Regions from separate parts of the Homo sapiens genome. Here region 2 is linked to region 1. The links are contacts of gene promoters, found by promoter capture Hi-C in blood cells and fetal thymus (Javierre and others, 2016). All regions are on one chromosome and are shown on one strand. The core of a region is centred on a gene start or on the middle of the fragment in contact, and the rest is flanking DNA. Distances in the headings are between cores, read along the strand shown. Region 1 holds the start of BLK-AS1 (BLK antisense RNA 1). Region 2 has its middle 37 kb from the start of LINC00208.

The links. The method cuts DNA at HindIII sites, captures the fragments that hold promoters and counts their contacts. A CHiCAGO score of 5 or more calls a contact.
Region 2: a contact is called between a fragment that was not itself captured here and the fragment with the promoter of BLK-AS1 in region 1, in 1 of 17 cell types (total B cells). The highest score is 5.1, in total B cells.

What each region holds. Positions count from the first base shown.
Region 1 is chr8:11,556,458-11,560,034 of GRCh38, forward strand. It overlaps BLK-AS1 (BLK antisense RNA 1), which reads right to left and starts at 1,808. Exons shown (of 5, transcript XR_948956.3): 1 at 1,433-1,808; 2 at 1-204. BLK (BLK proto-oncogene, Src family tyrosine kinase) reads left to right here. Exons shown (of 13, transcript NM_001715.3): 9 at 201-380; 10 at 1,505-1,581. RefSeq lists an enhancer at 1,978-2,267. The HindIII fragment of the contact is 8,296 bases long and covers 1-3,577 here.
Region 2 is chr8:11,612,194-11,615,770 of GRCh38, forward strand. No RefSeq gene overlaps it. Among named protein-coding and RNA genes, the nearest start is that of LINC00208, 37 kb to the left of the region's middle. The HindIII fragment of the contact is 2,562 bases long and covers 455-3,016 here.

The DNA.
Region 1 (3,577 bases), core at 558-3,057:
TCCACTGCCTGAGGCCCCATATAGAAGGGACCTGGAACGCAAGGTAGGCACCACACAACCATGGCCTCCGGAACTGCATGTTCCAGCTCTGGCACCTGGAATGGGGTGGCACCTGGGCACTTACCCCGATTTTGGTTAAGGGATCACCTCCGAGCAAGCTCTCTGTCTTCTGATTGGCTTCTTCACTCCCCCGGGCTCAGGTTACTACAAAAACAACATGAAGGTGGCCATTAAGACGCTGAAGGAGGGAACCATGTCTCCAGAAGCCTTTCTGGGTGAGGCCAACGTGATGAAGGCTCTGCAGCACGAGCGGCTGGTCCGACTCTACGCAGTGGTCACCAAGGAGCCCATCTACATTGTCACCGAGTACATGGCCAGAGGTGGTGCCCCCCGCAGAGCCGCATCCTCAGAGCGAGGCGGGAGGGCCGGGCTTAGCAGGAGGAGGAGGGTCCGCTGCGGTGGGTTCACCAGGCCAGGGGGTCCTGCAGATCTAGGGCATGGCACGGTGTGGGGACAGGGAGGGATGGAGGGAGGGGGAGGGACAGAGGGAGGGTGAGAAACAGGAGGGTGAAGTGGTTCTGACAGAGCCATGTTCTCAGCCCAGGAGCAGTTCAGACAGCATTTCTGGAGTGCATCTTCTGTGCCTAGCACTCTTTGATGCCTGCTGGGAGGGACAGAGCATTGCAAAGTCAGACGAACACCAGGCCAGGCATGCAGGGACAGTACTAGATCCAGGTCTCCTGCCTCCTGGTCATGCAACCATTTACAACTGTGTGAATATTTTACAAGGATGGCCAGAGAGGTTGGGCTTGATGGCCTCTGAGGTCCACGGCGTGGCCAAGTTCTCATGCCACTTTCTCACCCTCCTATGACCCTGACCGCACACTGCTCCTATAGGATCCTAACATGCCCATGTTGATATAGCTCCCTAACAACTGTCACCAAGGGGCCCCCGGTCGGAGGCTGTGCTGGGGGTGCCTCTAGCCTGCCCCTAGGGCAAGCATCCATCCCTCCCAGCTTTCTGATTCCAGGGGGAGCTGCATTTGTCCCCTGCACCAAACCTGGGGGACAGTTCTCTCCATTCTGGTGCTTTCTTGCTGATGCCTGGTCCTCAGAGGCAGAGGGTGTCTGCCAGCAGGGATCAAGGGAGCGAGGCCAACACGGGGGGAAAGACAAGAAGGGGCATGAAACTTCGAGTCAGAACTGGGGTCCCACTCCCAGCTCCCGGCTGGGTGACTTCAGACAGGTCCCTGCACCTGGCTGAAACCTAACTTCTGGGCAACTGCTGGTATATTGGCTGCCTCCCGGGGTGCTGAGACTGGCATTTTGTAAAGTGGAAGGCACTCGGCAGCAGTAGGTAGATCCTTCCTGATGCACCGAGAGATCTGAGGGTGCAAACTCCCACTTCCCGCGCCCATGGGGAGCCACTCACACCAGAGAGAGGCTGGCACCACCAGGGGCGGGTCACTTTGCAGAAGGGCACTTGCAACTTCTCTTTTCTTAGGATGCCTGCTGGATTTCCTGAAGACAGATGAAGGGAGCAGATTGTCACTCCCAAGGCTGATTGACATGTCGGCGCAGGTTGGTGAAGTACCAGGTGCAGAGAAAGGGCGGCATGTGCCACCTGCTGCCCACAATGGCTGCTCGTGCCTTACCACCCCATCCTCTCAGCCAGCAGGAGAAGTCAGGGGGTACTGAAGGCCACCTTCCTCTAGGCAGATATCCCCAAGGTCACCCACTGCACTTGGACTTGCAAACCCTGGCCACTGTGCCTCCTGCCCCACGCAGCTGTGAGGGAGCCCAGGGAATGGAGCCTTAGACCCGGGCTGCTGTGTTGGAATGAGGCTATTCTGTTCCGAAGGAAGAGAGGGCGAATGAATGTCATGGGAAACACACAGAGTTAGCAAGAGTTCCATTGAACCCGGCAGGCAAGTGTGTTCTGTTGTGACCTCATCTCTTCCTTAGATGGTGCCCACAAACATCTCCTGTAGGACTTCCCATCCCAGGGGCCCTCAGCCTTTGCACAGCCCTGGCGTCGACCCCAGGCTGATGGGCAGGCCTGAGCTACACACAGATGCCAGGGACATGACTTCTCTGAGCCCTGGAGGACAGCCCCACCTTCTGCCACCAGGGAATTGCGAGTGCTGGACCTCCTTGGCTACCCAGGACTGGTCCTCAGTGTCCCTCACGTTCACATGCAGAACTTTCTGGACTCCATGGGGTGAAGAGCAGAGTGGAGAGGAGGGTTTTAGCCGAGAGCTCTAGCTGGCAGGAAGCACATCTGGTGGCCCTGTTAAAACTGGAACTCTCAGCAGAAAAGTTTTGGTCTGTGGTCAGCCTGTGAGGCACACACGTGCGTACACATACACACACACATACAGCTGCCACCGAGAGGAAACGCTCCCACCCACCGCCCACATCAGCCCTCCCACCTCGCCCCTCGCCCAGCCTTACCCAGTAGCGCCGCTGCAGGAACTGATGCCACAACGCCTTTTTCCGCTGAGGTGGGCAGACAGCCATCTGGGCAGGCTGGTTTTGGAAAATGAGTGCTGGTAACCGGCTTCAAACCCCAGGGCAGTGATAAGCCTGCCCACTGCTGCTGCTTCCTTTCCCCTTCCTTCTCTCACCCTCCGCTGTCTCCTATTCAATCCCCACTACACCCCCTTGGGAAATCTCGTGTGACCCAGGGGCAAAGGATGTGAAAAGCCATCGGAGTTTAATACCTGGATGTAGCCACAGAATCGGGGGTGAGGAGCCAGAAAATCAGAACTTCCCAGAAGGGCAGCCTCTAACCACATGCTGACCATGCCAATGGCTCTCTAAGCACACATGTACACACACACACTCTCACACACATAAAAACACAGACTCACACACACACGGACAAACACAAACACATACACAGACTCACACAGACACGCAAACTCACACACAGACAGACACACACACAGACACACAGACTCACACACACAAACTCACACAGACACACAAATACACAGACTCAGACTCAAACACAAACTCACACAAACACATTTACACAAACTCACAAACTCACACACACAAACACACACACAAACACGCAAACTTACACACACATGAGCAGACACACACCCGGCCCTTCTGGGCTCTTCTTTTCTTACTCCATAGGAAGCCATGCAAAGTCTCGCCAGACCTTTCTTCCAAGGCCAGATCTGGCCAACCCCACAGGAACCCTGCAATCACAATCCCTCGGGCCCCACTTTGCAGCCAGATGCCACCGGTTCCCATGCCCCATGCCTCGCCACCCCTCTACCTCCTCTGCCCAGGAAGCCTTGAACACTTCCCACCTGGCAGAATCCTTATCATCATCCATGGCTCAAGCGTAATGTCATTTCTATGAAGGTTTCCCTGGACAAGAAACTGCCAGAGAGCCCTTAGCTCAGGTGTTCCCGGAAGCACTGTTCTTGCTCAGCAGATCTGGGCAGCTTCTTCTTGAAAGCAGATCTGGGCCCTACTCAACATTTTTTAAAATATATTTCTGGTACTGTTCAATAAATATTAGTTATCAGAACGAGTACTGTTAGATGCTGCCCAGATA
Region 2 (3,577 bases), core at 486-2,985, 56 kb after region 1:
GCACGGCTTCAGCCCGAGAGGGTGCATGCACGAGGAAAGCGAAAATTGACGCAAGAGGTGCATCAGCCTCCTACGCCACTCTTCTGCAAAGCACCTCCCCGATAACCTTCCTGTAGTAGTGACAATCACTACAAAAATAAACATGGCTAACGTTTATGGAGCATGTATTCTGTGCCAGTCACTGTGCTGAGCACACTAGAGGCTTTGTTCCTTTAAAACCCACAACAAGCTTAGGAGACAGGAAAACTGAGATGCAATATGACGAAGTAGCTTGAGCCAGAGACCCGCCCACCACCCCCCTCCCCAGCTCTGTCCAGCGTGCTCTGCAGCCCCAAGGGGCTGGGGGAGTGGGTAGAGATGGTAGGAGGGCAACATGATGAACTGGGGCTTCAAAGCACATGGGCCTCTGGCTATGAATCCAGGCATTGTACTCACTGTGGATCACTTAACTCTAAGCTTCAGTCTCTTCATCTGGAAATAGGGGCTAATGATCATCGTACCTACCCCATGGATTACCTCCAGGATTCAATGAGACAGCAATGTGAAGTGCTCAGCCCAGCGCCTGGCACGGAGAAGGGCTGAGAGCCGTAAGCTCTCCTTGTTGGCATGGCCTCTGCCTCCTCTGCACCTCAGAGCACTTGGTTGCCCGCATCTCTTTGCACGTAGCAACTTCCACCGTGCGTGAGAGCACTTTGATTCAGCCCAGCAACCTCCTCACTCTCCACAGAGGATCTGCCGTTTGGGGCCAGAGGTCATAGTTGGCTGATCCCTGGGCTCCAGCAGCAGCATAGGAAGTGCTCAGGGAACGTCTGAGTGAATGGTAAAATAATAAATGGATGCATGGTGCTCTTTGACTAAAAAACCCTCCAGTAGCTATAATAGGAGCCACAGCCTAGCCTGCGAGAGGAAGGGCAGTGGAGACCCCGCTAATGAGGAAGGCCAGAGCACCCGCCAACCGGTCCCGGCTCAGACAGCCAGACGGCTGGCCGGCCCCTTCCAACTGGCTGGGCTGATCTCGCAGAGGATAAGAGGGAGCCGGCGGCTTCGGCTTGGCCAGGGAGACAGCCTTGGGCCTGTGGGTGCCGGTGCCGGCTCCCGGGCAGACAGACAGGCCAGGAGGAAGTCACAGGCCTGGGCCCTCAGGCCCGGGCGGCAGCGGCTCCAGAGGACCTGACCATGGAACACTGGAGCCTGTGAAAAAAAATGAGAGTGGGAAATGGGAGTCAAGGAGCCAAGGGAAATGGCGGATCTGTTAACAGGCTGTTTTTGCTTTTGTCTCTGGAGAAGGAAAAGAATGGAGAATAAAGAGGAGCGTCGCAGGCCGGCTTCCTGTGCCCCGGCCAGGGTGGATCGCACCAGATAATGACTGATAGCCGTGGAAACGGGGAGACAAGATAGAGGGGAGGCCGGCTGCAGCGGCAGACCCCCGGAGCCAGGGAGGGGAGCCGGAGGGACGAGGAAGACGCTGAGGAAGCGCAGAGGAAGTGCTAGGCGAGGGGAGAACCGCGGGCCCGGAGCAGCCGCCCAGGGTCCGGGCCAGGGCCTCGTGTCTGGAACCAGGCTGGGAGGCTGGGCCTGAAAGCAGCCTGGCACGTCCCACTTTCTCCAGCAAGTTCCCAACCAGCTCCAGTGTCCCTTCCTCCGCGGAAAAACGGGGCTATGGCGGGTGGGTTGAAAGAACTCGGCTTCCTCCGTGGGTGTTTGTGGTGTGAACAGAGGTGCTGCAGGGTGAATGGCTGGGGCACCAGGAGCTCCACCAAGTGACTGTTTCCTTCCCTTCCCTGAAAGCGGCTTCAGGCGGAGGCTGGGCTCCTCACTGACACCCCAGGACAGCCTGGGGGTCTCAGCTCCAGCCCCTTTGACTGAGGCGGCAGCCTCAGGCTTGGGCAGCCGCCTCCTGGGGACCAGGGCCTCCTTCGGCTCTGCTATGGGAGGAGAATTGGGAAGCCCACGGCTCCAGCGTGAAGAGTGGTTCATTGTGAGGTTCTCCGGCTGGCTGCATGCCGTTCCGCTCACCACCTTCCCTCCTGAGACGTTGCCTGGTGTTGCCTACCTGCCCAGGGCCCAGACACGGCATGCCTGGGTTCTAACCTGGTCACCGAGGAGGATGGCACGCTCATGCACCGCTCCCTCACAGAGCCTGGCAGGCGCTAACTGGGGCTGCAGAGACAGAAGCAGCGAATGAAGCCAGGGAAGAACCCGGGAGCGACTCCCCTCCCCTTCCCCGTGTCCGGCCCCCCCAGGTGGTTTTTCTTCCTGAGCCCTCCGCTCCTGCTCTTCTCTTAAAAGTCTCCAACATCTCTCTGGCTCCCGATCTCCGAAGCTGAGATGTGAGTCCAGGGTGGCCTCCTCACTTGGATTCAAACGCTGTCACTTCTCATCGTCAAAGTCTGCCTGGAAAACTCAGGGCAGTCCATCTTCCCTGCAATCACTAGTCTGTGCAGAGCACACTGGTCTTTATCCTCGTATTTATTCATTCACCCTGTGTTTGCTAAACACATCTGTGTGCTGGCCACCACGCCAAGACACGAAATACGGTGGGAACAAGAGTGACAGTCCCTGCCCATGGGGCTTAGATCTGGGGGTAGATACAAGAAATGAACAAATCATCACACAGCATAGCAAATGCTAGTAAGGGTTTGGTGAAAGATACAAACTGAGAAGGAGGTGCTGATTTAGGTGAATAGTCAAGGAAGAATACATCAGTGACCTCTAGGTCCAGGTCATTGATTACTGGAGTGAGTCATTATTTCACAAACAAAATTGCAAATCCCAACGGAGAAAGGATAGAAATGTGAAAGACAGGATAGAAGGGAGGGAGAAACGAGAAAGGGAACAATTAAAAAGAGGAGCTGGGCATTGTATGCTAACGTGGGTTTTGTAAAGCCAAGGGGCTCTGATAATGCAAAGTTGTTTGTTCTGGGAAGGGAGAGGGCACTTCAGTGTATGTAAGAATTTTCCAGGAAACCCAGCCAGACCCTCCAACACCCTGGACATCAGACACTGAGATCACTGAAGCTTAAGGAGTGTAAGTGCTTAGTTAAGCAAAGAGGCACCCTGGAAATGCCGCCTTAAACCCAGGGATCCAACCGATGGAACGCGTGTTCTAGGCATAAACTTGACAGGAGAGAAAATTCCACCCTTCAAAAAAAAAAAAAGTGACAGATCTGGAAAACTGTCAAGAACTGTTTTCTGTTTCTATACCCACTTCCTCTTGGGCCTTGTGTGTTCTCCCCTCAGCATCTTTGGTCTGCACCCGGCACTCTCAGAAGAGTGCGTGTGAGTTGCTCATTCATGCTGAAGTGTTCATGAATTTGTGTGTTGGCCTGCCAGAAATATTTGCACCTTAAGTTAGGACAGATGGAAGGCTCATTGGTGGGATTTTACCCCATCCACAGACCTTTGGAAACCCTTCAAGTCCCTTAGGGTAAGAGAATTTACATGGCTTAAAGCTGCCCCCTGAAAAGCACTATATCTTCCTATCCAGGCCACACATAGTATTCCTGCCTCCTTCTTGTTTCCCGATTTTAACCTTTGGAATTTCCAGAAGCGTCCTATCAGGAAGGAGAAGACGGGT